Linked DNA regions of Homo sapiens: regions 2, 3, 4, 5, 6 and 7 are each linked to region 1. Evidence: promoter capture Hi-C in 16 types of primary human blood cells and fetal thymus (Javierre and others, 2016). All regions are on one chromosome and are shown on one strand. The core of a region is centred on a gene start or on the middle of the fragment in contact, and the rest is flanking DNA. Distances in the headings are between cores, read along the strand shown.

Region 1 (4,227 bases), core at 1,191-3,690:
AGCTTCCCCTGAATTTCCCTTCCCTGTTTAGAGGGGCATCCACATGCTCTCACTCACCTTCTCTACATAGTACCCAGTTCCCACATCGATGAGCACGTGTTCCACATCATGCAGCTTCCCAGGGACATACATCTGAGAAGCAAGAATTAAGGGAAAAACTAGCCAGCCCAGCATGAGCCATGATTCCGCCAGCCAGCCTGCTTGGCCTCCAAAGACCCTCTTTTTCCAAAAAGCTACAAGGCATAAGGACTGAATAATCTGGAGGCCTTAGAACAATACCTATAACTCCAAATGGAAAGAAGACAGAGAAGTTGGTTCTTTAAGGAGAAAATGATGTATGCTGGAACACCCTCTTGTCCTGCCTCATCCCATCTCTCACTCTCTAAGCAGTTCTTGCAATTCTTCCCATTAGCCCCTCCAGAAAGACTAGACATGTTTTCCTACTGTTGTAGAGTACTACAAGTAAAAAGCCAGCCTCATTTCCCTTAATGCCCTCAATCATGAAGTAGCTAATTCCTGACAAAGTCAATGTTTTGTTTGTTTTTTGCTTTCTGAGACAGAGTCTCGCTCTATCGCCCAGGTTGGAGTGCAATTGCCCGCTATCGGCTCACTGCAACCTCTGCCTCTCGGGTTAAAGCAATTCTCCTGTCTCAGTCGCCGGAGTAGCTGGGATTACAAGCATGTGCCACCACGCCTGGCTAATTTTTGTATATTTAGTAAAGACAGGGTTTCACCATGTTGGCCAGACCGATCTCTAACTCCTGACCTCAGGTGATCTGCCAGCCTTGGCCTCCCAAAGTGCTGGGATTACAGGCGTGAACCACTGTGCCTGGCTAATTTTTTTTTTTAAACCATTCCCTACTACACACTACTATTCCTGTGTTCCTTTTAGCCTGTCAGTTCTGAGACTACAGATTAAAGATGCCCTACTGCCATAACTTGCTCATTCAAATAAAACACTGAACAAGTGAACACAATCCAGGTTTCTTAGTGACAGTTTAGAAATGAGCCACAATTAAGCTGAAGTTGAAGATTAACAGAGCCAAGCTCCCTGTTTCTATATCCTCCTATTTTTGTCTATTGCCTGTATCTTCTAAGATATTAGCAAAGTGTAAACCACCAGCTTTATCTCCATATTAATGTTCTCAAACAGCAAAGGGAAATATTACATCTCAACTATACATACTCCTTGGTGTTCACAAGACATTAGCTGGATGTTGGTGTGAAGTCAGATAAAAGAGCTACAAAGTGTGTAATAAGAGTATTCTTGGCCGGGGGCAGTGGCTCACGCCTGTAATGTAATCCTAGCACTTTGGGAGGCCGAGGCAGGCGGATCACGAGGTCAGGAGTTCGAGACTAGCCTGGCCAATATGGTGAAACCCCCAACTCTACTATTAATACAAAAATTAGCCGGTCGTGGTGGCGCGTACCTAAAGTCCCAGCTACTCGGGAGACTGAGGCAGAAGAATCTCTTGAACTCGGGAGGCGGAGGTTGCAGTAAGCCAAGATCTCACCATTGCGCTCCAGCCTGGGCGACAGAGCGAAATTCCGTCTCAAAAAAGAAAGAAAAAAAAAAAGGGTATCCTCAAAATCATTGTGAGGAGAGGGTAATCTGAAGTAATCAAAACAATCCCCCTCCCCGCTTTTTGGGGGAGTGAAGGAGAAAGGGAGAAGGCAGCAGGTAGCCGTTCCTGTGGAAAGGATACAGAACTCGTCAGTGGGACGAGTAATTCTTTCCCTGTGAAAGCAATGAAGACAAACACCTGGGGAAGGTTAGCGGCTCCAACGTAAGACGTTAAAGAGAGTTCCAACAGGGCACAGCACCCACAGACAGTGTGAAAAGAACGGAAACAGGGGCAATAGGAGCAGAGGAATGTCCTGTACTTTTCAATTCTAGGCAGGCAACATGCAAAGGGTTCATGAAGCGGTATACGATATGTAATGGATTTTCTCGTTTCAGGTAAGAAAAACTGGGTTAGGAGGTGGGACGAGAGAAGCAGGTTCGCCACTTTAGGTTACCCTCACCCGCCTACCCCATACCCTCGTTGCTCTTGTTCAGCACGTTCAGACAGTCCTTGGCTTCCACATACTTGGTCTGTACCACTTTGAGCTGAGCAATGGACGTGGACAAGAACTCCACTTCCTACAGAGGACCGGGATAGCGGGTCAATGAGAGGACTAAGGGGAGAAAGGAGCGCGGCCGGGGAGGGGGCAGGTCCTGGGATCGGATAGAGGTTTCGCCTGGGAAAGGTAGGCTGCCAACTTGGAACCGGGCGCGAGAAGTACGCGTGGGCAAGGGGGATGTAGAGCAGGAAAGAGGTGCCTCTGGGGCCCGTCCCCACCTGGTCCAGCTGGTTCTTGAGCATTTCTAGCTGCGGCAGATTCAGCTCCGTGATGTTAATAGACTGCGCCATGTTGGGAAGGCCGACTTAACGAAGAGGAAGTCTCTCGGCGAGCAACGCTCTAGCCGTCCTCTGCGCGTCTCGGTGGCGCCGGGAGGCCTCGCTGCGCCAGACAGCTCTATGATCCTCCGTCCCGGAAGGGAAGGAGGGGCTTGAGCCTCTCAGAGACTGTTGTGTGAGTTCATTTCATAAAATGTCTTAAGCCTAGTATTGTAAAGTAGCAGCAAACAGGACTCCTGCCTACAAGGAACTGCAAAATCTTAAAGTTCTCACGACACAACCACGATATTACAAAGTAGTGTATGCTACTCCACGTGGGTGGTATAAGCTACTGGAAAGCAGGCTGGATTGCCATGGCGACGGCTCGGGGGCCTGGCCCTGCTCCTCTCCACCCCGCTTGCTATTGCTGCCTGCTGGTACCCCGCCAGGCCCGATTTCAAATGTTCCTCCCAGCACGGCATGGAAATGGCAGGGAAATTCTAAACTCTTTTTCCCAGATGGCCTCTGAGGCCGAAAGGCAGGAAAAAAAAAAAAATCCCTTGTCAGACCGTTCTGAATTGTCCTTGGAAAAAAACAGGCATTAGATTGAAAGCTTGTCGAAGGCAGGAACCAACCATGTTCTCATCACTGAACCAATTCTTCCCCTCTCGCTATAACCATCTTCCCCCAGCCGGAAGTAGGCTGACACGTAGTAGGATCTGAAAAAGGGTTTATCACCCGTTGCCAGTGAGGTGGTGGGAGAACAGCAAGGAAGCGCCATTGTCAACCAAGTACAGCACAAATTAATCAATAAAATATTTTGGCCGGGCATGGTGGCTCACGCCTGCAATCCCAGCACTTTGGGAGGCCGAGAAGGACAGATTGCTTGAGCCCAGGAGTTTGAGACCAGCTTGGGCAACACGGCGACACCCCGTCTCCACAAAAAATACAAAAATTAGCCGGGCTGGTGGCACACGCCTGTAGTCCCAGCTACATGGGAGGCTGAGGTGGGAGGATCGCTTGAGCTGGAGAGTTGAGGCTGCAGTAGGCTGTGATTGTGCACACTAGCAACAGAGCTAGACTCTGTCTCAAAAAAAAAAAGGTTTTACCATGTGCTGTATGTGAGGGATACGTGAGAGTGTAAGATACTTGCTTCCCTTGAGCTTAACAATTGGAGAGAAAAACCACACTAGAACTCCACAGATCCACAGACTCTACTGCTAAAGTTACACATTGGTAAGTGTAACAGGTGTACATGGGCAGACAGCAGTAGCCTTTAACATCTACTTAGGAGGCAGGCAGGGCAACTGAGGCATTAAAACTAGTGCCATGGCTGGGCGCGGTGGCTCACGCCTGTAATCCCAGCACTTTGGGAGGCTGAGGAGGGTGGATCACAAGGTCAGGAGTTCGAGACCAGCCTGGCCAATATGGTGAAACCCTGTCTCTACTAAAAATGCAAAAATTAGTGGGACGTGGCGGCATGTGCCTGTAGTTCCAGCTACTCAGGAGGCTGAGGCAGGAGAATCGCTTGAACCCAGCAGGCAGAGGTTGCAGTGAGCCGAGATTGCGCCACTGCACTCCAGCATGGGCAACAGAGCAAGACTCTGTCTCAAAAAAAAACAAAAACAAAAAACAAAACACTAGTGCCACTCCAAAGATACCTGCGGCAGGAAGACAGGACGGACGGATGGTACCTGGCCAAAACACTCTCAAAGGGTCTATCACTACCCTTCCTTGGGCCTGTCTCTACTTAGCATTTTGATGCCCCTTTCTCCTCCAGATTTGTCTGCTGAGGCCCAGCCAGGCCCAGCAGGCTTTGTCCTGTGTCTTTGCCTTTCTTCCCCAA
Region 2 (4,227 bases), core at 542-3,041, 250 kb after region 1:
GCTGAAGGTGGAGGGACAAACAGAGGTGTGAGTTCCCAGTGGGCCCATCTCCATCTCCGGGACTGGGCAGGAGCCTTGCCTTAGCACTGCACTGGTTTTCTCCGTCCAGATCAAGCCCTCAAACTTGTAGGACGCACTTGGCCACAGCTGCTTCAGGGCGGTCATGGGGCCTGTCCTCAACTGTGCATGGAATCTGACCCCTTGCGTCACCTTTGCTGGGTCAGCTCCTCCCCAGGGGATCACTTGGGCCCCTCACATGGCCCTGGTGTGTGATGCCCTTGTGGAAAAGCCTCCATGCTCAGGCTTTCCCCCTGGTGTGGTAAGGGTACTCCCTGACTCTTCCCATCTTGTCCTCCCCGCATGGAGACCTGTGTGCAGAGTGAGCAGGGAGGTTCCAAACATATGTGTTGTATGTCAGTCCTGCAGCACCAGACTGAGCCGGCAGGAGTGGCCTCAGCCAGTCCTGCTCCTTTAGCTCCTGCTGTCCCCACGCTCCAGGCAGCTGACATGCCCTCCTCCCCCACGGTCAGAACAACATGTTTACTCATTGTGCACTGAGGCAGCAGACAGCAATTGTGTAATGGGGGTGGTCATGCTGGAGGGAAACAGATAGAAGCCTGTCACTGGGGAGAGATGTTTAGCTGGCTTTGGATGCTGTGAGTTCTCCCCCGACCCCCTGCACCCTGGCACTTGGGATTCACGCATTGAATGAGAAAGGAGTGGACCAGATTCCCTGTTCAGCCCCTCCTGACCCAGAGATGCAGTGAGGCAGGAGCCTGGGATGCCCCCTTATGGCCCAGGCCTATCTCAGTCCCTTCCCCTCCCACTGTGGGTTCTCTCCTCCCATCCTCTGTCTGGGGACAGCTTGTCTCCTTGCCATCTCTCTGTTTTACCCATATTCCCCCTCCTCTGGAGTTCAGACTCCTGCTGTCCTCCTCCCGGGGACCCATCACAGTAGTATCTCAGGTTGTCCTGAGCTGCTGCTTTTGGGGCAAGGCTGGGAAGTTGGGAAAGGGAGTGATGGGGATGTGGGCAGCACCTCTGGTTTCTTGACTGTCCCTGCAACTCTTCTGGGCTGGATCAACTTTGTGGGACCCACTAAGACACTTGGGAGCATGTTGGCATTAGCAGCAGATATGGATGTTGTCAGTGGAAAGCAAACCTCCAGTTCCAAAGCACTCCTGACTCCCTCTCCTCTCTCTTTTTCCACCCTGCCACCCCATTTCCCTCAAACTTCCCTGGGCCAGGGAAGGGGCCTGATGATCTCTGAGCCTGCTGGAGGATACCTGGATAGCGCATGGCAAAGTCCTGCAGTGAGGCACCTGGGGCTTATGTTGGGGGGCCAGGACCTCCTGGGGTTGGCCCAGGCTAGAGCAGGGAAGGTGAGAGGAGCCAAAACAGACAGCAGGACCTACTCTAACCCAAACATCCCCTCACACTACAGCCCTGGCCACTCCGGAGGGGATGCTGGGCCAGGGAAGAAGGCTGAGGAAGCTGAAATTGGGAAGAAGGCCTGGCCTGATTCCTGGTCCCCTCCCCCACTGCCCGCACCTCCACCCCTGCCCCTCTTTTGCCCAGCTGGTGGGCACTCCTACCCTGCTTGCGGCCCGGCTGCTGTCCCTCCTCCCCAGGGCTCTGAGCAGCCTCTCCACAGGGCCGCTGGACTTCATGGTGTTCGGCTGGCTGGGGTGCTGGCCCCAGGGCCTGAACAATGCTGGGGCCTGGCCCGGGGCTTCCTGGAAGCGGCCTGGCGGAGGCAGCCGCTTCCCCTGGGCGGAGGGTAGGCTGTCTGGCTGGTGTGAGGAGAAGCCCGGCCCTGGAAGTGGAGGGAAGTGCAGGCGGGAAGGGGGCAGGTCGCTGCTCCAGGAAGTGGAGGGGGGAGGATGTGGGGGAGGCCAGGAGATCAGATTCCCAGGATCTACCCTGCTGGGAGTGTCAGCCTGTGATCTTTTGCTCCCCCTACTCCCCCAACTCTGGAGTTGTCCCACACCTGGGACACCACACTCTCCAGGGATCTGCAGGGATCCATGGTCTTGAGATTCTGCCCCCACCCCCGGTGGGGCCGGGTGAGAATTCTGGTCTCGGGGCAGGGCTAAAGGGCAAGTGGGGAACAGTGTGTCCCAGCCAGGCTCCAGCCTGAACTCTCAAGCTCTCGAGGGACTTCCGCTGGGGAGGGAGTGGAGCTGGGAACTACTACCAGCAGGCAGGCCCAGGATCCCGAGTGTGTCCTGAGAGTCAGGTAAAAATGGGACTGGGGGCCCCCTTCCTGTCTCAGTTTCACTCGTTATGAAGTAGGAAAAGGAAAGCATGCACCGCCCACCTTTACCCTCAATACACCTTGCAAGGCCAAGTTCCAGCCACAAGACTGCTTTGCTCAGGTTTGGGGAGTAATCCATTCTCCTGCCACAGCCTAAGGCATATGAGGCCCTTCTCCTGAAAGCCCCCAGGTTTCTGCTCCTGACACAGTGCCCCCCACTCACCCATTCCCTGGCTTTGTTTCAGACATGATCTCACAGATCCCTAGCCCTCTTTCCAGCCCTGCAACTTGGGCTCTCTACCCAAGGGCTGCACCCTCCCCCCGCGGCAACCCCGAAGCCTGAGTACTACCTTCATGGCTCTCCTGGGTCTGCTCTCCTTCCTCAGCAGCTGTCCCAGGGCCTGAGGACTGGACAGGAGGTCCCCCCTCCCAACACATACTCCACCCCCATCCATGGGCCTCCGGCCTCCCTCCTGGGAACATGGCCAACTTCCCGTCCTGGGAGTCAAGGGAGGGAGGTGGATGGGGCCTTGAAAAAGGGGGAGTAATCTTCCTAAAAGCTAAGGGGTTAATGGCCTGGGAGTCTTCAGCCCCAAGCTGTGGACAGCAGCCCCTGGGACAGGCTATAGCTGTCACTTGAAAGAATGTGCAAATGTGCCCCTCTCATTTGCATGGTATTTATTGAATGTCCCAGTACTCAGGCAACTCCCCCAGCCCTGGCTTCTCCCACGGAGTCCCTTCTACTTGCTTCCTGCTCCTTCATATCCACCAGGATGGGTTCCCTGGGATGAAGAATCCTGCATTCTCTGGGGTGAGGCCTGCTGTGGGTGCCCACTTGAGACCCTTGCGAGGACCTGACTGGATTGGGCCTAGCCTGACACCTCTCCCTGGAAGCTCCAATTTTCCAGGCCAAGAAATGTGTCCCCAGGATATCCTGGCCAGAAGGTGGCATCTGTGTGGCAGGCCTGGGCTCCCTGCCTGTAACTGGAGAGGAGCACGGGCTCTGTGACCCACCCCCATCCTGCCAGCCTGGCTGTGTCCCAGCACATTCCAGGCCCCCGGCCAGTGTGGGCAACCGGGCCTGGCCTTGTCGAGCCCCCAGCCCTGCTTGGGGGAGATGGGGCAGTGTGACAAGGTGGGCAGTGGGGGTGGCTTTTTTCTGTCCAGTCCCAGCTTCTGCTCCTATGGCACATGGCCCTGACCAGGACTCCTCTACATGCTTCACTCTCCTGCTGCCTCCATAGGGGCTGAAAGTCCCCTCACCTGGAACAGGTCCCCAGACATCCTCTCACCTTCACTGGTCTCACACTCCCCACCCAGACCCAGCAAGGAGGTGCCCAAGCAGTGAGCTCGGTGAGGGGTGGGGTGGTCAGGATCCACTGTGGCTGTGAGTCCCTCCCATCCTGTGGCACTCGCACCTCGGAAGGGAAGCAGGGATGGGATCCCTATGAGCCAGTCCCGAGGGGAAAAGTAGCTCACTTGAGGAGGGCTGGGAAGGCATCACTAGACCCTCTTGGACCCTCACCCTCCTCCCGCCTGTAACATTCCAGAGCCTGTCAACCTCTCCCCCAGCCGGGCCCCCTCTCTCTCCGAAGTCTTGGGTTTGTTTGGAGAAACCCCTCCACCCACACCCCCCTTTCTGGAAATAGCTGTGGTTGGAAGGGAGGCTGGGAGCCCGGCCGCCGCGGAGGAGGGGTAAGGCCCAGGGAAGGAGCGAGGGAGGGCGGCGGCTCTGGGGGTGTTCCCAGAAGGGTCTGGAGGATGGGGGCAGACTGGAGGGGGCCGCAGAGCGGGGCTGGCGAGTCGAATCAGCCTCATCTGTGCCCGCTTACGGCCTCTGTCCCACATGTGAAGCAGGAAAGGAAAACGTTCGCCCGCACCCTGCCAGGCCGGGGCCCGAGCGCCGCTGCCAGCTGCTGCCGGGTCCCGGGCCTGCGTGTGTGGCACGGCGTGCGGCCCCGTGCGCCCCG
Region 3 (4,227 bases), core at 812-3,311, 230 kb before region 1:
GAGGGCCGGGTGCGGTAGCTCACAGCTGTAGTCCCAGCACTTTGGGAGGCCAAGGCAGGTCAAGAGTTCGAGACCAGCCTGACCAATATGGTGAAACCCGTCTCTACTAAAAATACAAAAAAAATTAGCCAGGCGTGGTGGCTCACGCCTGTAATCCCAGCACTTTGGGAGGCCGAGGTGGGCGGATCACAAGGTCAGGAGTTCGAGACCAGACTGACCAACATGGTGAAACCCCATCTCTACTAAAAAAAATACAAAAATTAGCCAGGCGTGGTGGCGCACGCCTGTAATCCCAGCTACTCAGGAGGCCGAGGCATGAGAATCGCTTGAACCCGGGAGGCGGAGGTTGCGGTGAGCCGAGATCGCACCATTGCACTCCAGCCTGGGCAACAAGAGTGAAACTCCGTCTTAAATAAATAACTAAATAAATAATATTAGAGACAGGGTCTCACTATGTTGCCCAGGCTGGTCATGAGTTACTGTACCTGAAGCCAGTCCTGAACATGGTAAAGCATGTCCAGCTTCCTCTTTTTATATATATATAATTTTAAAAGAGATGGAGACTCGCCATGTTGCCCAGGCTAGTCTCATACTCCTGGACTCAAGCAGTCCTCCCGCCTCAGCCTCCCAAAGTGCTGCGATTATAGGCCCTAGCCACCATGCCCAGCCCCAGCTTCCTTTTTAATCAACACTGATTCCTTTCCTTGTCGTTCTTCCCGTTTCTCTTGGCCTAGTCTTTCACCTCCATTCCCTGCATGACTTACTGAAATGCCTATGACAGAATAGGAACCTTTCCTTTCCCCTATTCTCCTAAAGAACTAATTTTTTCTTTTCTTTTGTTTTCTTTTCTTTTCTTTTTTTTTTAAGATGGAGTCTCGCTCTGTCACCCAGGCTAGAGTGCAGTGGCACGATCTCGGCTCACTGCAACCTCCGCCTCCCTGGTTCAAGCGATTTTCCTGCCTCAGCCTCCTGAGTAGCTGGGATTACAGGCAACCACTATCATGCCCAGCTAATTTTTGTATTTTCAGTAGAGACGGGGTTTCACCATGTTGGCCAGGCTGGTCTCGAACTCCTGACCTCAGGTGATCCACTCGCCTCAGCCTCCCAAAGTGCTGGGATTACAGGCGTGAGCCACCACACCCAGCCAATTTTTTGTATTTTAGTAGAGACGGGGTTTCACCGTGTTGCCCAGGCTGGTCTCAAACTCCTGAGGTCCGGCAATCCACCCGCCTTGGCCTCCCAAAGTGCTGGGATTACAGGCATGAACTACTGCACCTGGCCATAAAGGACTAATCTTTACATGTGCTCCAGTCAGCTAAAGATAAAGAGGAAGCCGAAATTCTCAGGAGAATTACTGTAAATTTCTTATACAATGAGAAACAGTGAACCAAGGCCTCTAGTTCATTAAATTGAGTTGGAAATTTCTTCTCCATTTTTTTATTTTGGGAGAGATAATATTAGTCTGAATTTTAAAAAATTATTTCTTGGCCGGGCAGGGTGGCTCACATCTGTAATCCCAGCACTTTGGGAGGCTGAGGCGGGTGGATCCCAAGGTTAGGAGATCAAGACCATCCTGGCTAACACGGTGAAACCCTGTCTCTACTAAAAATATAAAAAATTAGCCAGGCATGGTGGCAGGCGCCTGTAGTCCCAGCTACTCAGGAGACTGAGGCAGGAGAATTGCTTGAACCTGGGAGGTGGAGGTTACAGTGAGCCAAGATTGCACCACTGCACTCCAGCCTGGGTGACACAGCAAGACTCCATCTCAAAAAAAAATCATTTCTTAATTATCTATATTAATGGAGAATATAATTCAGTAGGGCCTAGAGTAGAGTACAAGATTCTTTTTTTTTTGTCAGAGTCTCACTCTGTCACTCTGGCTGGAGTGCAGTGGTGTGATCTTGGCTCACTGCAACCTCCATCCTGGTCTAAGCCATGCCTCCACCTCCCAAGTAGCCAGGATTACAGGTGTGCACCACCACGCCCAGCTGATTTTTATATTTTTAGTAGAGGTGGGATTTCACCATGTTGGCCAGGCTAGTCTTGAACTCATGGCCTCAAGTGACCACCTGCCTCGGCCTCCCAAAGTGTTGGGATTACAGGCATGAACCACCATGCCCAGCATCTTTTTTTTATTTGTTTTTGAGTCAGGTTCTTGCTCTGTTGCCCAGGCTGGAGTGCAATGGGACAGTCATGGCTCACTTGCAGCCTCAACCTTCTGGGCTCAAATGATCCTCCCACTAGAGCCTCCTAAGAAGCTGGAATGACAGGAATGCATCACCATGCCCAGCTAATTTTATTTATTTGTAGAAACGGATCTCACTATGTTGCCCAGACTGGTCTCTAACTCCTGGGCTCCAGTGATCCTCCCAACCTCGGCCTCCCAAAGTGCTGGGATTACAGGCATAAGCCACTGCGCCTGGCCTCACATGTAACTTTTTAATTTTTTTATTTTATTTTATTTTTTTGAGACAGGGTCTCGCTCTGTTGCCCAGGCTGGAGTGCAGTGGCGCAATCTCGGCTCACTGCAACCTCCACCTCCCAGGTTCAACCGATTCTCCTGCCTCAGCCTCCCGAGTAGCTGGAATTACAGGCATGCGCCACCATGCCCAGCTAATTTTTGTATTTTTAGTAGAGACGGGGTTTCACCATGTTGGCCAGGCTGGTCTTGAACTTCTGACCTCAGGTGATCCACCCGCCTTGGCCTCCCAAAGTGCTGGGATTACAGGCGTGAGCCACGGCGCCCGGCCCAACTTTTTTATTTTTTACTTTTTTAGAGACCGAGTGTTGCTCTGTCGCCCAGGCTGGAGTAGAGTGGTGCAATCTCAGCTCACTGCAACCTCCCCCTGCCAGGTTCAAGCAATTCTTCTATCTCAGCCTCCCAAGTAGCTGGGATTACAGGCGCCTGCCACCACACCTGGCTAATTTTTGTATTTTTAGTAGAGACGGGGTTTTGCCATGTTGGCCAGGCTGGTCTCGAACTCCTGACCTCAGGTGATCCACCTGCCTCGGCCTCCCAAAGTATTGGGATTACCAGAAGCCATCCTAATATTACCAGAAGCCATCCCAAAGTATTAGGATGACCAGAAGCCATCCTAATAACATAGAGTTGTTTTAACACACATTTTGTATGTTATATGTATTATCTACTGTATTCCTACAATAAAGGATGCTAGAGAAAAGAAAATATTAAGAAAATCATAAGGAAGAGACAATATATTTACTATTCATTAAAATAGAAGTGGAGTATCATAAAAGTCTTCATCCTCCTCATCATCTTCGCATTGAGGAGGAGGAGGAGGAGGAGGAGGGCTTGGTCTTGCTGTCTCAGGGGTAGCAGAAGCAGAAGAGGTGGAGAAGTTGGAAGGGGGGCCGGAGAAGCAGGTACACTTGGTATAACTTTTTTTTTTTTTTTTTTGAGACCGAGTTTCACTCTTGTTATCCAGGCTGGAGTGCAGTGGCTCAATCTCAGCTCACTGCACCCTCTACCTCAGGTTCAAGCAATTCTCCTGCCTCAGCCTCCCAAGTAGCTGGGATTACAGGCATGCGCCACCATGCCTGGCTAACTTTATATTTTTAGTAGAGATGGGGTTTCTCCATGTTGGTCAGGCTGATATCAAACTCCCGATCTCAAGTGATCCGCCTGCCTCAGCCTCCCAAAGTGCTGGGATTACAGGCATGAGCCACCATGCCCAGCTGGTCGGTATAACTTATTTTTTTAAATCTGCATGTAAGTGGACCTTTGCAGCTCAAGCCTGTGTTCAAGGCTGAACTTTTTTCTACAGATGGTTGACCTTTCTACATTTTAAGAAATTTTTGGCTTCTATTATAAAATTGGTCTTTCTTCTCCAAGTGCATCCCAACTAACAGAAAGGGATGATCCAAAAATGCTTTAGTGACAAGGAACTTCAGCTTGAACTTTAAAAACAAGACAGTCCTATATCACCAATTTGTAAAGGGATTAAACATTTTTTGTTTATAAACAAAAGGGGGTTCTTCAGTATGATTAATAACTGATTATAAATAAAAATAATACACTTATCTATATCTCCCCATAATAACTCATATGTCACTGTCAGTGAAATGGATAAGAACATTTGTCTCCATTTCTGAAACCTGTAATAGTATGTAATTGTTTGTACATATCACTTGTCCAAATCAGTGATTCTCAAACTTTTTTATTTCACAGTCTCCCTAAAAGTTCCCCTAAAATCCTCCCCCAATTCT
Region 4 (4,227 bases), core at 1,280-3,779, 220 kb after region 1:
ACAGGAGGCTGCTGGGGTCTCAGAAGCTTCCTAGGTGCTTTGTTGAGAAGACTCCAGTGGGGTAACTGAGTCTTCTGCCACTGTCTCAGGGATTAGATCTAGTGAAGAGTGGCTGTTTCAGAGATAGTTGATTTCCTGTTTGGGGAAGGGCCATTCTATAGTGTACCCTGTCCACCAACTCCTGTATTTCCAGCCCCTTAGCTTGTGTGTGTTTCCTCCCTCTTTTCTGGCTTGAACCCCTTCCCTGACTCCTTCTGAGCCCATGCTCTCACAGAGTTCCACTGAAGGGGGAAGAAAGTAGTACTGTTTAACTAGAGGCAAGAAAGCTGAGGAGTGGGAACTGAATCACTGTCTTCCAATCGATGAAGGGCTTTGGTAAAGAGGATAGAGACCAGCCATTATTCTCCAGCTCCACTGAGGACAGAGCCAGAGGAAAAGGGCTGAAGCTGCAGCATGAGAGATTGAGGTTACACAGGGTTGTGAGACCTCTCTTAGGCAAGTAAGGGAGGCTCTACATTCTTTTCCTCCTGGAAATGAAGAAACCAGGCTTGCACTGGTCTGGTACGGGTTGGATTCCAGCTGGAGGCTGCGAGAGGAGTAGGGTGAGGTGACCTTAAGTATCTGGTTCTGATGTCTGCCGATGTACTGAAGTGCAGCCTGATGGATTCTCCTGTGTGCTGGCCCTTGCAGGGTAAGGGTGGGAGAAGCTGAGGCCCTCCCCCTACTCTTGGGCTAGGCTGCTAATGGAATTCCCCCCTCATTCCTCCTTCAGTTATCATGGAAACTCTGGTGAAGTTGGCTGCTACGTGGCTTCTCGACCCCTGACCAAGGACAGCAATTATTTTGAGGTGATCAAGGCAGTGGGTGGGCAGAGCAGGGGGTGAGCTTGGGGGTGAGATCATTAAGCCCCAAGAAGCTCCTTTACTAGATGTATGACCTGGGCCTTTTAATTTTCCATCAGGGCTGTCCTGTTGGCTGGGAAATAGGTGCAGGATAGCATGGCCCCTCATCTGAGAGATAGGTGCCCTGGAAACCTGTCACCCTGTCCCTTCTGCTCTCCTACCCCTTAGCTAGGTAGACTTTGACCCATATCCCAGACTTGACTCATGTCCCCTAACCCAAACCCACCATATAGGGACGTGAGTCCTATCTTTCTCCAAAGCTTTGGAGTAATTTTCTAAGTGAAATAGGCACCCACTCTCACCAATTGCCCCCTCTGAGTATCTTATCTTTTTTCCTGATTCCCATGTCCTTTTTCTTTTTGAGCCTCAGCGCCCTTTAATCTCTAAGTCCCCTTCCCCCACCCCCAGCAATTCATCCCATTTCCCAGCCCTGCTGACTGTGCCCTGCTTTCTTCTCTCCAGGTGTCTATTGTGGACAGTGGAGTCCGGGGCACCATTGCTGTGGGGCTGGTCCCTCAGTACTACAGCTTGGATCACCAGCCTGGCTGGTTGCCTGACTCTGTAGCCTACCATGCTGATGATGGCAAGTGAGTTGGCTCCTGTGCAACCCGGCCCTTTTCCTATGAATTTGGGAATCTTAGATCTGAAGAACTACCTTGGGCTGGCTTTTCCCATTGGGTGTTTCATAGACTTTTCTGGTCAGGACAGGGAAGTGGCCTGGCAGCACCCTTGAAGGCTTACAGACTAGAGGAGGGTGATGCTCACGCCAGGACGTAAGTGGGTACCATCACAGAATGACCAGGAGCAGCAAGATGAGGATGAGGCCTCTGCTGTCAGTGCTGGGGAGAAGTTGGGAGGCCAGGCTCGGGTCCTGTGTCTGTACTACTCTGTCTGTAGGCTGTACAATGGCCGAGCCAAGGGCCGCCAGTTTGGGTCAAAGTGCAACTCCGGGGACCGGATTGGCTGTGGCATTGAGCCTGTGTCCTTTGATGTGCAGACCGCCCAGATCTTCTTCACCAAAAATGGGAAGCGGGTGAGTGGGAAATAGTGGTGGGATTTACGTGGCTGAAATCTGCCCAAGGATTTGTGGGGAGTGATTAGGAAGAGTCTGCTGGCTGGGGCTTGCCCAGGGACCCTTGCACTGAGTTCCCATCTCCTCCAGTCCAGCCTCAGATTCTCCTGAAGTCTCTTGCGTGTAGGAGAAGATACTTCCCATGGCCAGAGGAAGCTGGGACATTGCCCAGATGACAGGCAGAGAGAGGCAAGTTAGTGGAGCAGAGGATGAGCAGGAATTGTGGGGAACAGAATTGGGTGATTTGGGGGAAGGTTTTGAGCAGATAAAAGAGAGGGGAAGATTATGGCCTGGCCATGTAAGCTGGAGGTCCTCTTTGGGTTTTGACTTGAGCACTTTTGGGGATATGTCCTTTCTGTGTCCTGTTTTCCTTGTTTCACGTCTCTTTCACTATCCTGTTCGTAGAGAGACTAGGCGTGGTGAGGAGATGGGACAGGAGCCAATAGTAGAGAGAGACACACAGCTCTCTCCCTTCTCTCCAACTCCATCTCCCACATTGGGAAATTGGTTTCTCAGGCCTTGGCCAAGGGGTCCTGCTGCCTTAGCATCTGCGCCTCGGCACTCTCCTGTCCAGCACACGTACTGAAAGTATTTGGCAGCAAGTCAGGAGACTTGTGTTTGTCTTCTAGCTCTGTACATACCTTGCTTAGCCAGGAGTACTTAGCACATTTGGAAACTTTTCTGCACCTCTGGGTTGCTTTTTTTTTTTTAATCTGTCAGTGTGTGTGATAATTATTGGTTGCATCATCTTTTTTTTTTTTTTTTTGAAATGGAGTCTCGCTCTGTCCCCCAGGCTGGAGTGCAGTGGCACCATCTCGGCTCACTGCAAGCTCCGCCTCCCGGGTTCACGCCATTCTCCTGCCTCAGCCTCCCGAGTAGCTGGGACTACAGGCGCCCGCCACCACGCCCGGCTAATTTTTTGTATTTTTAGTAGAGACGGGGTTTCACCGTGTTAGCCAGGATGGTTTCAATCTCCTGACCTTGTGATCCGCCCACCTCGGCCTCCCAAAGTGCTGGGATTACAGGCGTGAGCCACCACGCCCGGCTGGTTGCATCATCTTAAAAGTACCCTTGTGAGAATTAGGTGAGCTATGGAAAAGCAGGCCGGGTGGCAGCTCCGTCTTTCCCCCCACTGCAGGTGGGCTCTACCATCATGCCCATGTCCCCAGATGGACTGTTCCCAGCAGTGGGCATGCACTCCCTGGGTGAGGAGGTGCGGCTGCACCTCAACGCTGAGCTGGGCCGTGAGGACGACAGCGTCATGATGGTGGACAGTTACGAGGATGAATGGGGCCGGCTACATGATGTCAGAGTCTGTGGGACTGTAAGTAGCGGGTGGGAGGGTGGGAGGGGCTGGGTCGGAGGAGGCTGGGCAGAACACCTGTGGGCACATGGTCATGTCTGAATTGCTGGGAATGGGGAGTCGGGACAGTGTCCGTGTGGGGTTTGGCAAGATAGCCTAGGCTCTTGACATGAGTCCTTGAGTCCAGATCTGTGTTTTCTTTAGCACATGTTCTCTTTTCTTCACTTCCTCCTCTTCAGGGAACTCAGGTTCGCAGTTTGACCCTGGGAACAAGTAGTTCTGCTTTGCCTTTTTTGGTTCCTTCAGCTTCTGGTGTCTTCTACAGCCCTGCACAACTGCCTTTGAGGGGCTGGGGGTTGATCTGGAGGCAAAATGCCTGGCCCAGGCTTTTCATTCAAAGTGTTGTGGGGCAGGTGTGGTCAGAAGTCCACACATGTGGTGGAAGGTTCTTAGCCATCTTTTTTGAGGAAGTGTCAATGTCAGTTTCTATTGTCTTATCCCTGCATTTGATAGAGGATTAGAATGGAGGCAGATAAAGATTCAGTGAGCATCCTTACACCTCCAAACTTGCTTCATTTATCTTTTCCTCATACCTGCTTTAGTATGGATTTTAAGCTTCGTTGGGAAGCGTGTGGAGCTTGAGAAAGGGGAATTCTTCCTCCCCGGATTTTAAGTTTTGTTGGAAAATTCATGAACCTTGAGAAAGGAAAATTCTTCCTGTCTGCCTCAATACACTGTGCTGCATTGGGAGTGAATGGACGCCAAGTCCGGGATCTGGCCCTGACCTCTAGTGGGCTGCTCAGCCCTCCCACTTCGAATTGTCCCTCTCCTACCCCCTTGCTCCTGGCCTGGCCTTTTTCTCCACCCTCTGGCCTTTCCACCCCAACCCAGGCTGTTTTCAACTCAGTCTTTGATAACAAAACAGAAGCAGTGGGGGGTGGGAGCGGATT
Region 5 (4,227 bases), core at 691-3,190, 220 kb before region 1:
AAAGTCCTACCCCAGAATGAGAAAAGGCTGGGGAGAGTAGGGCAGGTTAAAGGAGCTTATGTCCTCTGTAGATGTAGGTTTGTATCATAGCTACTAGGGTTTATTTTTTTAATGGGGGGCTAATAGCACAGAGTTATCTCACCAGCAGTAGCTACTGGTGAGTGATGTTTTAGCTGTAAGAAGTGGCTATGAGCAATAGTTTCACTGACTTTACCTTAGGGCAGTGCCACAGTAATCTGGGAACTTGTTAGAAATACACATTCTCAGGCCCCATCCCAGACTTATTGAATCACAGACTCTGGGGGCAGGGTTTAAAAGCACTCCAAGTGATTCTAATGCACACTAAAGGTTGAGAACCATTTCTTAGGGATAAGCTGGGAAATTTTTACAGGTGTGGAGGATATTTCAAATACATCTTTTGCCTTTGCACTAACATGCTTTCATTTCTTTCAGTCTCTTCCTCCATTCCCTTTAAAGTCTTCCCCATCATATCACTGATCTCAAAAGCTAGATTTGTCTTCATTTTAGTCGTATCCCTAAAACCATGCATTGGTCTGGACAGGAGTTGTCCCATATTCCCTTGCAGACTGGTCACTCCATGTTCTCTGTTACAGTAAGGACCAGCCAAGCTTCAGCTGTCCCATTCCTCCCCCTACAACACACACACCTTTCAGGCAGGGAGGAGATGAGCTTCCAGCCCCAAGAGTGGAGGCTGCCACATCCTAACATAGTATCTATTGAAAAGGAAGCAGTGTGTATCTATGATTATATCTCTGTTCATCTATATATTTTTGACATGTAGCAACACCTCTCCATCTTATCAAGGAACTCAACTCGGTCTGGGTCTCCCCAGTGCCCAGTGGTGGCCTTTGACAGGTAGGAGGATGCAGTGCTGCAGGCTATTTTGTTTTTTGTTACAAAACTGTCTTTTCCCTTTTCCCCTCCACCTGATTCAGCATGATCCCTGTGAGCTGGTTCTCACAATCTCCTGGGACTGGGCTGAGGCAGGGGCTTCGCTCTATTCTCCCTAACCATACTGTCTTCCTTTCCCCCTTGCCACTTAGCAGTTATCCCCCCAGCTATGCCTTCTCCCTCCCTCCCTTGCCCTGGCATATATTGTGCCTTATTTATGCTGCAAATATAACATTAAACTATCAAGTGAACCACTGTTATGTCTGATGCTTCACTCCTCTATCCACAGCCCCCATTGTCCCCTTTTCTGGGAGGTCACTGGCCTTTCATGTCTGTCATCTTCATCACTCCCCCATTTCTTAGGACAGAAGGAACAGGGATTTTTGTCTCTAGTTTTTATACATGGGAGATACAGCCTAGAGAAAGTGGATGATTTCTATAAATTACAAAGTATGACAGAAGGCCCAGGGCAGAGCTCCTGTGGACTGCCTTGGAGACAAGGGCCCTTGGCATCCTGGCAGCAAGTACTCACAGGAAACTTAGTATGTGCTTTATGTGGATGGCGGGTGGGAGAGTTGCTGATGGCAAATGGCCTTTTACTTTTCAGTGTTTTGTTGCCAACCCCCACCCAACCATTAAAAAGTGGCTGTTGTGACCAGGGAGCACACACACAGACAAAGACGGAAAGTATAGCTTTCTATGGTAAGGAGGAGGCTGGTCTGGAAATGAGGGGTAGAGTTTACTTAGAAGCAGGTAAGAAAACCGGGCATGGTGGCTCATGCCTGTAATCCCAGCACTTTGGGAGGCTGAGGCGGGTTGATCACCTGAGGTCAGGAGTTTGAGACCAGCCTGGCCAACATGGAGAAACCCCGTCTCTACTAAAAATACAAAAATTAGCCAGGTGTTGGTGGCGGGCGCCTGTAATCCCAGCTACTCAGGAGGCTGAGGCAGGAGAATCACTTGAACCTGGGAGGCAGAGGTTGCAGTAAGCTAAGATCGTGCCGTTGCACTCCAGCCTGGGCAACAAGAGTGAAACTCCATCTCAAAAAAAGCAGGTAAGAGTTCACAAGAAAAACAGGTAATGCTCAGAGACTGTGGGAATCAGGAAGAGGTGTAGGGAAATCACAGATAATTTATTGCATCTGTATATTCCTTTATAAATAACATCACAAATGAGAACAATGAGCCAGGCTGAAGAATTTGACAAAAGAGATAGCAGGTGTCTCTGGAGTTTCCCAGTAGGAGAGAAATGACTTAAGAAGCTATCTGTGGCTGGTGTTTGGTAGACACTTGACACAAATAGCCTGTGCCTCCTGAGGAGAGCAGGAAAGGCAGTGGTGGTCTTCACTGTGTTGTGGCCAGGAGCACATGGGTGTCCAGAGAAGGGTAAGAAAGGAAATTGCTGAAAGCCAAATACCAAAGCCCAGATTATGAGGTTTTGGAGGTTCCCACCACTGAAGCTGCACTCTGAAAACTGGGCAGTTTACAAAATTAGAGGAATCAACCCATTCCAACTTCAAAGGAGACCAGTTACCTCCATCCTGGACACAGGAAGCCAGCTAAACCAGCCTCTTTCTGAATGCAGCTCAGCCCAGAGCCACTTGTAATTGATGTTTAGAGAAATACTAGAAGCAGCAGGATGGTAAACATGGAATGGCTGCCCTATGCTACGTGGAATGGTAGATTGCTTTACTGTTCACCTAGTGATAACAGGAGTAGTCACTTCATTTTATTGATGATAAATTGAGGTTTAGCCAAGTCACACAGTGAAGTGCAAGAGCTAGGATTACAACTGAGTTCTGTCTGGCCCAGAACCAGCTCTGCAGTGTCCCATCCACCCTCACACCGCTGCTCCTCTGGACCTCTGTCACACAGGAGCAGACAAGGATCATTCTGGGATGCAGCAGCTACTGCCCACAGAAAAGCCATCTCCCCGTGGCCTTGATACTCCCTTTTAAGAAGTGGTAAACTGGCCGGGTGCAATGGCTCATGCCTGTAATCCCAAAACTTTGGGAGTCCCAGGCGGGCGGATCACCTGAGGTCGGGAGTTCAAGACCAGCCTGACCAACATGGAGAAACCCCATCTCTACTAAAAATACAAAACTAGCCAGGCGCGGTGGTGCATGCCTGTAATCCCAGCTACTCGGGAGGTTGAGGCAGGAGAATCACTTGAACCTGGGAGGCAGATGTTGTGGTGAGCCGAGATCAAGCCATTGCACTCCAGCCTGGGCAACAAGAGCAAAACTCCGTCTCAAAAAAAAAAAAAAGATAAAACTACAAGATACCATGATGATGAATGTCAGGTTTTGTGGTTGGGACCAACCATGAGACAAAGCTTACGAAAAGGTTTACCCTGGCTTAGTCCGCATTAACAGAAATATGGTATCTGGAGCATCCAGATCCAAACCTGCTCTAATCTACGTGTCTAAAGGATAAGTTGGTTCCTAGATGCCTTGCCTTAAAGAGTGGGGTGCTTCCCCTTGAGCAAAAAAGACTATGGAGTGGGCCAGGTGCGGTGGCTCACGCCTGTAATCCCAACACTTTGGGATGCCAAGGTGGGTGGATTGCTTGAGGTCAGGAGTTCAAGACCAGCCTGGCCAACATGGTGAAACCCCATCTCTACTAAAAATACAAAAATTAGCCGGGCATAGTGGTGTGTGCCTGTAATCCCAGCTACTTGGGAGGCTGAGGCAGGAGAATCGCCTGAACCCGGGAGGCAGAGGGGTTGCGGTGAGCCGAGATCGCACCACTGCACTCCAGCCTGGGTGACAGAGCCAGACTCCATCGTAAAAAAAAAAAAAAAAAAGCTGGAGTGTAAGAATGAACTCTCTCTTCAAAAATATGAAGAGCTTTTACACATGAAAGAGATGAGATGTTCTGTTGAGACTTAATGGAGCAAACTAAGACCCCGAGTAGAAGTCACAGGAAGCCCAAAGCCCCCTCGGCACAAGGATAAATATGTCCGAAGACTGTCTGAGGAGATGGTAAGTTCCCCGACTGGGGCACATGAGGCAATCACAGCTAACGTTTTGAGGATACCTGTTCTATGCAAGCTGTTTTATTGAATGGATTACAAAAAGTATGTTAAGTAATGCACACCCTAGGAAGGCGTTCCTTGTAAAATGGGCCCATGTTTCAGGTGAGGAAACTGAAGCTCAGAGCGGGAGACAGCTTGCTCAAGCAGAGGCCAAGGCCTTTACGTCATGGCTCTTCCTCAGCACAAGCTAGAGACCCACACTGGTGGGGATGCTCCAAAAGGGACTCGAGGATTAGAAGGAACCTGCACCATATGGCTTTGAAGGCCTCTCCCTGAGG
Region 6 (4,227 bases), core at 559-3,058, 180 kb before region 1:
TTCATAAGATAAGTTATTTCATAAGATTTTAAACTGATTAGCATAAAATATTTGTGATATGTGGTCATGAAAACATGATTGGTAATTCACCATCTGTATCCCTTCCACAACAATGCAAAGCCAAAAGCTGGGTAGAAAAGCAAGGGCCAAAAAACTGCAAAGTCCTTCGACTACAAACTATTTACTTTTAGTCAGAAATGGTTTCTCCACCTCAGTATTAAGGGAATATTTAGGGTTTTTTTTTTTTTTTTTTTTTTTTTTTTTGAGACAGAGTCTTGCTTTGTCACCCAGGCTGGAGTACAGTGGCGCGGTCTCGGCTCACTGCAAGCTCCGCCTCCCAGGTTCACGCCATTCTCCTGCCTCAGCCTCCCGAGTTGCTGGGACTACAGGCGCCCACCACCATGCCCAGCTAATTTTTTTATGTTTTTAGTAGAGTCGGGGTTTCACTGTGTTAGCCAGGATGGTCTTGATCTCCTGACCTCGTGATCCACCCGCCTCGGCCTCCCAAAGTGCTGGGATTACAGGCGTGAGCCACCGTGCCCGGCAGGGGATATTTAGTTCTTAAAAGGGGGGTAGATTCGTGCCAATTTCAAAACACAATGATCTAAGGAAAGGTAAACAATAGCCCTGGATTAAAGGGTTCAGTAAGAACTGAAGGTCTAAGAAAGGAACTGCTAGATACCATTAGATCTAGGACCTGAAAATTTAAGTTCATAAAAATTGGTGGTAGCACTCTGGCCCCACCAGAGCTCTGAAAGAAATGTTCTGAATGTGTATCAAGCCCGAATGGGGATTTGCTGGGGTGGGGGAGGTGACGCAGGGAGAAGGGGATGCTATGAAATACTGAGTCAGGTACTCTAGGATAAAAGACCACATGGGGGAGCTCTAGGGTTTAAAAAAATTTAAAACTGAGGCCCTTTGGAGGTAGTGATGGTAGCTAGACCCTTAAACATGTGGAATCCTTCCTTGGGGAATAGCCATTAGGTTAAGAGGCCTTCCAATCAAGAACTAGATAAAACCACATCCCTGGGGGGAGATGGTATCAGCATGATTAAGTCCTAACTACAGGAGGAGCAAGCTTACCAAGGGAGAGAGCTGGACCACATGATAAAGGAGCAACTAAATAAAACTCCTTACTGGACAGGTTTGGCCATCTAATCCTTTATGCATACTTGAGACGTGTAACACTTCTTCACAGGCCCAATCTGGGATGGAGGGGCCAAAATAACATCAAAGAATGAGATAATATATTGGAATACTAACAGCTTTTTTTTTTTTGTCAGCCAATGGTGATGCTGGGAAAAGGTCATCAGGGAAACTATCTCTACACTGAGTTCTCTAATGCCCTGGGAAGAGCATTACACTTTCAGCACTGTGGCAACGTGTACTCTCGTTGAATGGAAGGCTATCAGAGGCCTTATACCACCATACTAAGAACATTTCTACTGTTTTATGAGAGGCCTGTGCCCATCTTAGTATAAGAAAATGAACAAGATTTCAGGGAGGTTAGTACGATTGAGTAAAAGTAAAGCTTAAGTTGTTAGTCCTGGCTAGTCACTCATAACCTATGAATTTAAATTATCTTAGGGCCTCTATTTTTTAATCTGTAAAATGAGGGGATCAATGTGTTACAGATTAGTTGATCCTTAAGGTTCCTTCCAAATCTAAGCATGTCACTTCCTACTCCTGATAGTGCTGGTGGGGAGCAGAAAGGATACGGCCAGGAATAGAAAAAAGGGTAAAGAAACTTGGTTGACAGAGTTGGTTTAGGACTAGTGGATGGCATCATGTCAAGTTGTGGATAATGTCACGGGTTGGCTGAGATATACCTAATGTCACAGAAAGAGGCATAATGCTAATTCAGAGGAATGCAGACAGAAGCTGCCTAATTTTATTAGACTTATCCCACTTTGCCCCTCCCCTTCATTCTGGGTAAAGAAGTATGTTCTTTGAATGTATGACTTGGAAGAGATCCTCATGGTAACCATTCACCAGAGGAATCCTGGGATGAACACCTTGTTAGCTGCTGCTGGCAAGGTAAGGCCATCTGAGAAGTCAGATAAACTTCCTCACTAGTGAAGCTTGTTGCCAATTACAGAGGACCTTCAGGATCTAAACTGCCACAGACTCGTTATCTCTTTGTGGAAATATTGACAAACGACTATAAAATTCACTTGGGATTCAAAAAGCCCATGTCAGTTATACAGGCTTCCTAGCTGAATAGCCACAAGTCACAAGCCCCCAACCCTTTACCCTTCACAGCACACAGTGTACTAAGGTTCTTACTGCGCCAACTTTATTACAGCTAGAAACACAAATATGGCCAAGAAGGCCTGCTGATAGCTTAACCATTAAATAATTCTTAAAAAAAAAAAAAAAAGTTAACGAAGCAGCTTTTATTCATTAACACAGAGCCTAACACATTGTTATATTGCAAGGCAGAATAAAGCTACAAAGAAAAGTAACAAACAAGAAAGAAGAGAAAACTGTGGCTCTAGATAAAGAATTCAAGTCAGACCCTGAAACAGGCACTCAGCTGAAATGGCCTAAACCTAAACAAGGGTTACCACTCCCCCACCCCCACCCAGTTATCCCCCAAAGTAGTAAAAAGGAAACGGTAACAAGCTCACAATAGTTTCATTCTCACCAATGTTAACAAAGGAAAACAAAATGAACAAAATAATACTGGAGGAGGTGCCTCAAGGTATGCAATCAGTAGGGAGAGAATCTCTGTTTCTCGCCTTTCAGTTTGTTAGTTACACATGGCACGGCAGAGGTGGTGGTGGTGGTAGCTGAAGCCCCGGTACCCTTAGCAGCAGACACAACATTTAGAGCCAGGAGAGGGATGGGTTTCATGCCAAGCAGACTGGAGACACAAGGGGCGGTCGGAAGAGGGTTGGGGAGGCTGGAGGGTGCGTCGGAGGTCCCCGCTGTGGCGAGCGAGGGGGTGGTGGTGGAGGAGGAAGAAGAAGAAGGGGTGGAGGGTTGAGAGAGGTTGATGCTGAGGTGATCAGGGATCGTGACGGAGGCTGCCTGGGAGGAGGGTTTAGCGTTTTCTAAACTGTAACAGAGGAAAAAAGGAACAAAAAAAAAGGGTGGGTGGAAGGGAAGACCACAAAAGGGAGTAAGTACAGGACAAAAACTGCTTCAGTTATATCAGTAAGTGCCTCTGGTTGACAATTAGGAAGACCTAGTGTCAACTTGTGACAAGCTTTCTTTTAGCCTATGTCCCACCCTCTAAATATGTATATTTCCATTCCACAGAGCTACTTAAAAACTGCTATGGTGAAGAAAAAGCTGACAGAGAAAAGAAATCATAGGGCACATACTTCATGTATCTGACACACTGACCCAACCCAGATGTTGAAGGAATGATTTCGGGTAGAAAAAGATACTCATCAATCACCCAACAAGGAAGAAATGTTTCCTCTAATCAAATGTCAATTTCCTATTCTAACAGAAAATCAATTATCCCACAATTACTTGTGAAGCTTTGAATATTTATAAAGCAGAATTTTTAAAAATCCTTCCAGCTATGTATTAAAGTCTGCTTACATCTCCACAGCAAACAAACCAGTATCAGGGTGGAAAGAGACAAGAGTCCAAAGTAGGTCACTGACTAATTTCAAATTTCAAAGAATGTAGCGTTTTCAAAGAAAAATGCTGAGAACAGAAGTGTAGATAAGAACTAGGGAAGCTTTTCTGGTGGGAGGTGGTATAAAAAGTTGTTTCTGACTGATCATACTTCTAATGTGGACCTTTCAGAAGTGGAAAAGAGAAACTCAAGTATCACCTAAAAATTCATACTTAAGCGAAAATGCTGCTGCTTCCACTCCCAAAATAAGCTCCACAGAACAGTAAGGGTACATGTCTCCCAAATGCCTGTATGTGTCTAAGCCAGAACTACATATATTTGGGAAGTGTGCCTGGACAATTGAGCCCACAACGCTAAGTCTTCAAGAGCAGAAAGGCTCCTCTTAAAACCTCATTTTATTTACCTATGTCCAAGGACAGCTGCAATCCATAAAGGAAAGGGATACAGAAGTCAACTAACTATATAAAAGGACAGACTGCCACCATGAAAAATCAAGAGACAGGAGAAAATGCTCAGAATCCAGTAAAATCCTTCTTGACTTAAAAAAAATGAGAAAGGAAAAAAAAAAAAACCCTTTGACTTCTGCATTTAAACTGCACCAAGTTGAGAAAGAATAAGCTTTGTGCATGCAT
Region 7 (4,227 bases), core at 1-2,500, 130 kb before region 1:
TCCCCTCCTGAGAGCTTGCGTCTCAACCCACCCCCACCCTGGTCACAAGACCCCTTATCTCCCAGTCACCAGGGCAACCAACTTCCCAAGGCCAGGAGGAGGAAAGCGTGGGGCGGGAGTAGGGTGAGAACTGGCCCTGGTTCCACCTCTCATCCTAACCTGGGCCCCAGCCCCCATCAGGCTTCAGTACCCTTGGGTGGCTACCTGGGGCAGCCTGGGGACCCTGGGAGCCAGGAGTCCCAGGGCTCCCTGGAGGAGGCAGATGGCTGTAATTGGCATTGCAGAAGTCAGTGCCACAGGAGCAGGTGAAGAGAGTGGAGCCAGGGCTGGGGTGGGCTCGGGGACTTGGGTCACAGTGGAGGGACTCACAGCCTGGCTCATCACTGTCTCGGCATCCTGATGGGATGGGATTAGGGGAAGAGGAGAGAAAGGGGGGGCAAGGAAGAAAGCACAATGGGGTGTGGAAACAGAGGGTAAATCCCTTCTCTATCAGAGGCGTCCCTTCCAGCTCTCATGGGCTTTTCTTTCCCACCAGATGTTCTATTTCTCCCCTTCCCCCTTGGTTGCCACCCACACCCCAGGATGTGTCTGTCTCCCACCCTAGCCATCACCTGCCATATACTTTGCCATTCACCTTGCATTTCCACCTGTGCCCGGTCTTGGGTCAGGTTCCAGATCCCAAAGCAGCAGCGGCTGTAGAGGCAGCGGATAGCTCTGGGGAGCTCTGTGCCTGTATCTAGCAGCTCTCCCAGTGTCTTTGTGCTTCCCCGCACTCCAGGGGCCTCAAAGAACACACAGGTTCGCCTGTTTGGGGGTGCTGAGGCCCAGGGTGGGGAAAGGAAAAGATTCAAGGTGGGAGTGAATGCAGAGGCAAAAAACTGGCCAAAAGAATAGACAAAACATGTTCCACATCCCAGCGTCAGTATGGTAAAGCCACAGGAGGAAGCAGGGTCAGCAGAGGCCTGGAACCTGAGCCCTGCCATGGGGACACATGGCTCTATCCTTCACCCTTACTCACCCAGCCCACTCACCACTCTTCCAAAGGGGTGGCTCTTGCTTCAAGCGCCCCTTTCCCTTGCTGGATGGATGGAGAGACCCTTCCCCTCCCTGTAGACACTTACCTTCCACAGCTGTGGGAAGTAATGCCCAAAGCCCCAAAGACCCTAGCATCTTGCTGGAGGATGGCAGCAGCAGAAGGAGAAGAGCATAAGCCAGCACAGCTGCCCCTGGCCAAATCTTTCTTCAGATACAGGGCATCCTGGGGCTTCTGATCCCTCAGTCCCCAACTCCGCCCCCCTCATCCTATCCCAGCCTCTGTGGGGGAGAAGGCTGCTGTGGGGGAGAGGGTGGGTGTGGGGAAAGCAGGGAAAGAAAGGGAGGAGCAGAGAACCAATCTCATATCCTCTTCTCTTCTGCAACCTCCTCTTTGCTCTGCATAGTGAGAGGAGGGGAACTTGGAGGCCCAGCTGAGAACCCAGTGATGCCTAATTTCAAATCTTTGCCCTTCCCTGACCTTGGAAGAAGATGCTGGACTCTGTTGACTCTTCTCAGGAGGAAACCAATGTGAGGTCAAATGCTTAGAGCCATTCAGCTCTGCCCAAGATCCTTTCTAGCCTAAGATCTCTTTATATTCAGGGTTCATATCTGCAACTGCTTGGGCAGAGGAAGGCCTCACAGCCCATATTAGAGGTTACCTTGTTTTCCAACTTAAGAATCAGAAAGTATACAAAACTTACCTGAATTTTTAAAAAACACATTGAAAACAGTAACAATGGTAAATTTTGCTATGTGGATTTTTTTTTTTTTTTTTTTGAGACGGAGTCTCGCTCTTCTCCCCCAGGCTGGAGTGCAGTGGCACGATCGCAGCTCACTGCAACCTCCGCCTCCTGGGTTCAAGCTATTCTCCTGCCTCAGCCTCCTGAGTAGCTGGGATTACAGGCGCCTGCCACCACACCTGGCTAATTTTTGTATTTTTAGTAGAGACGGGGTTTCACCATGTCAGCCAGGCTAGTCTCGAACTCCTTACCTCAGGTGATTTGCCCGCCTCGGCCTCCCAAAGTGCTGGGATTATAGGCGTGAGCCACCATGCCTAGCCGTGGATTTTACTTAAAAAAAAAAAACACATTGGTTCACAGGCTGAACAAATACCCATTATTAAGGAGGTAACAAATTTCTTATCAAGCACCTACTATGTGCTGGGGCACAGCTAGGGCTATGCATTTTACAATCATCTCATCTAATTCTCCCCTGAAATATTTATTATTATTATTTTATTTATTTATTTTTTGAGACCGAGTGTCGCTCTGTCACCAGGCTAGAGTGCAGTGGTGCCATCTTGGCTCACTGCAACCTCTGACTCCCTGGTTCAAGCGATTCTCCTGCCTCAGCCTCCCGAGTAGCTGGGATTACAGGCACGCACCACCATGTCCAGCTAATTTTTGTATTTTTAGTAGAGACAGGGTTTCACCATGTTGGCCAGGATAGTCTCGATCTCGTGACCTCGTGATCTGCCCGCCTTGGCCTCCCAAAGTGCTGGGATTACAAGTGTGAGCCACTGTGCCTGGCCTATTATTTTTATTATTTCCATTTTATAGGTAAGAAAACTGAACTTACGTAAGTCGCCCAAAGTCATTCAGCTAGGAAATAGCAGAGCTGGAATTTGAACTTAGGCAGGTCTGACTCCAAAGTCCAGGTTCTAGTCTTATTTTTATTATTATTTTTGTACTTTTAGTAGAGACGGAGTTTCACCATGTTGGCCAGGATGGGGTCGATCTTTTTTTTTTTTTTTTTTTTTTTGAGATGGAGTCTTGCTCTGTCGCCCAGGCTGGAGTGCAGTAGCGCGATCTCGGCTCACTGCAAGCTCTGCCTCCCGGGTTAACGCCATTCTCCTGCCTCAGCCTCCCGAGCAGCTGGGACTACAGGCGGCCGCCACCACGCCCGGCTAATTTTTTGTATTTTTAGTAGAGACGGGTTTTCACCGTGTTAGCCAGGATGGTCTTGATCTCCTGACCTCGTGATCCGCCCGCCTCGGCCTCTCAAAGTGCTGAGATTACAGGCGTGAGCCACTGCGCCCGGCCGAAGGGGTCGATCTCTTAACCTCGTGATCCCTCCGCCTCGGCCGCCCAAAGTGCTGGGATTGCAGGCGTGAGCCACCGCACCCGGCCGGCTCTATTCTTTGTATTACACTATACTGCCTGAAAGACGTACAAAATTCAACAATGAAAAAAAATTACCACTTAATACTATACTTGGACATTTGAATTTAAATTGTTGAGAAAATATGCATCATTACCTGCCAACAGGCCACTAACTAAAAAGGGAGGGTACAGTTCAAACTATCACCACCAGAGGTCAGCAGAGGAGAAATTCCCTGCTGCGGTGAGAGGGCAGAAAGTACCTCCTCTGATGACTAATACATATAGTATACCTCCTACATTTACTAAGCTTCAGGGACTATAAAATGTGAAGGGCGGGCACAGGATGTGGAGAGTTTCAGCATGGAGTTGGGAGGAGAGGGCTATGGCTTGTTCTGCAGTAGAGACAGAGGAGTCCAACTCCACCAGACTCTTTCCCAGAGTAAGAAACAACAGAAATAGGTAATCACTTCCACACCTGTGAGCCACTGGCTCCTTGAGAATTAAGAGTCAGAGGGGACTTGTTCTCTGTTTCCCTAGCTTTCTGTCCCCCTAGTGGCTTCCTGGAAACCCTTTCTTGGAATGATCTGGCTTAGACCAGGGAGGACAGTCTGAGTACCGACATTTTTTTTTTTTTTTTTTTTTGAGACGGAGTCTCGCTCTGTCACCCAGGCTGGAGTGCAGTGGTGCGATCTCGGCTCACTGCAACCTCTGCCTACCGGGTTCAAGCGATTCTCCGGCCTCAGCTTCCTGAGTAGCTGGGACTACAGGCGCATACCACCACGCCCGGCTAATTTTTGTATTTTTAGTAGAGACGGGGTTTCGCCATGTTGGCCAGGCTGGTCTCAAACTCCTGACCTCAGGTAATCCGCCCCCCTCGGCCTCCCAAAGTGCCGGGATTGCAGACGGGAGCCACTGCGCCCAGCTTGAGTACTGACTTTTTGATTCTGGGGTCTTTCTTCTGGGAAACCTGCATGAAAGGAAGAGATAGTAAAAGTTCCAGTAGTTGTGAAACAGCAGCGGGAGGAATGACCAGGGCTCGAGATAGCCGCCCATCCTTCTTTGGACCCTTCCAGGAGTCTGCAGGGCCTTG

What was found. Contacts are between HindIII fragments. The CHiCAGO score rates a contact against its expected background, and 5 or more counts as called.
Region 2: a contact is called between the fragment with the promoter of TNS2 here and the fragment with the promoter of PFDN5 in region 1, in 9 of 17 cell types (total CD8 T cells, naive B cells, activated CD4 T cells and 6 more). The highest score is 8.2, in total CD8 T cells.
Region 3: a contact is called between a fragment that was not itself captured here and the fragment with the promoter of PFDN5 in region 1, in 1 of 17 cell types (erythroblasts). The highest score is 6.5, in erythroblasts.
Region 4: a contact is called between a fragment that was not itself captured here and the fragment with the promoter of PFDN5 in region 1, in 10 of 17 cell types (endothelial precursors, megakaryocytes, fetal thymus and 7 more). The highest score is 9.2, in endothelial precursors.
Region 5: a fragment that was not itself captured here is called in contact with the fragment with the promoter of PFDN5 in region 1 in 6 of 17 cell types (erythroblasts, total B cells, megakaryocytes and 3 more); the score reaches 7.7 in erythroblasts.
Region 6: a fragment that was not itself captured here is called in contact with the fragment with the promoter of PFDN5 in region 1 in 7 of 17 cell types (erythroblasts, activated CD4 T cells, megakaryocytes and 4 more); the score reaches 14.0 in erythroblasts.
Region 7: a contact is called between the fragment with the promoter of AMHR2 here and the fragment with the promoter of PFDN5 in region 1, in 10 of 17 cell types (naive B cells, total B cells, erythroblasts and 7 more). The highest score is 9.0, in naive B cells.

Annotation. Positions count from the first base shown.
Region 1 is chr12:53,293,755-53,297,981 of GRCh38, reverse strand. It overlaps PFDN5 (prefoldin subunit 5), which reads right to left and starts at 2,440. Exons shown (of 6, transcript NM_002624.4): 1 at 2,343-2,440; 2 at 2,041-2,143; 3 at 1,707-1,738; 4 at 58-132. The coding sequence starts at 2,414. RefSeq lists enhancers at 1,533-2,732, 2,218-2,757. The HindIII fragment of the contact is 3,517 bases long and covers 1-2,996 here.
Region 2 is chr12:53,047,629-53,051,855 of GRCh38, reverse strand. TNS2 (tensin 2) reads right to left here and starts at 1,791. Exons shown (of 29, transcript NM_170754.4): 1 at 1,596-1,791; 2 at 1. The coding sequence starts at 1,670. The region is part of intron 2 of TNS2-AS1 (TNS2 antisense RNA 1); the gene reads left to right. RefSeq lists enhancers at 2,787-3,630, 3,631-4,227 and a silencer at 3,933-4,227. The HindIII fragment of the contact is 14,276 bases long and covers 1-4,227 here.
Region 3 is chr12:53,525,400-53,529,626 of GRCh38, reverse strand. All of the region lies in intron 9 of ATF7-NPFF (ATF7-NPFF readthrough), which reads left to right. All of the region lies in intron 9 of ATF7 (activating transcription factor 7), which reads left to right. Among named protein-coding and RNA genes, the nearest start is that of ATF7-AS1, 14 kb to the right of the region's middle. The HindIII fragment of the contact is 5,319 bases long and covers 1-4,227 here.
Region 4 is chr12:53,072,357-53,076,583 of GRCh38, reverse strand. SPRYD3 (SPRY domain containing 3) reads left to right here. Exons shown (of 11, transcript NM_032840.3): 3 at 773-848; 4 at 1,365-1,489; 5 at 1,800-1,935; 6 at 3,113-3,298. Among named protein-coding and RNA genes, the nearest start is that of SPRYD3, 4.9 kb to the left of the region's middle. RefSeq lists enhancers at 3,701-4,201, 4,025-4,227, 4,202-4,227. The HindIII fragment of the contact is 2,730 bases long and covers 1,165-3,894 here.
Region 5 is chr12:53,508,995-53,513,221 of GRCh38, reverse strand. The region is part of intron 12 of ATF7-NPFF (ATF7-NPFF readthrough); the gene reads left to right. ATF7 (activating transcription factor 7) reads left to right here. Exons shown (of 12, transcript NM_006856.3): 12 at 1-1,168. Among named protein-coding and RNA genes, the nearest start is that of ATF7-AS1, 2.9 kb to the left of the region's middle. RefSeq lists a silencer at 3,953-4,185. The HindIII fragment of the contact is 2,618 bases long and covers 632-3,249 here.
Region 6 is chr12:53,473,703-53,477,929 of GRCh38, reverse strand. All of the region lies in intron 14 of PCBP2 (poly(rC) binding protein 2), which reads right to left. Among named protein-coding and RNA genes, the nearest start is that of PCBP2-OT1, 11 kb to the right of the region's middle. The HindIII fragment of the contact is 550 bases long and covers 1,534-2,083 here.
Region 7 is chr12:53,420,878-53,425,104 of GRCh38, reverse strand. It overlaps AMHR2 (anti-Mullerian hormone receptor type 2), which reads right to left and starts at 1,250. Exons shown (of 11, transcript NM_020547.3): 1 at 1,122-1,250; 2 at 635-817; 3 at 205-396. The coding sequence starts at 1,170. RefSeq lists a cis regulatory region at 3,163-3,681 and an enhancer at 3,366-3,932. The HindIII fragment of the contact is 5,088 bases long and covers 1-3,446 here.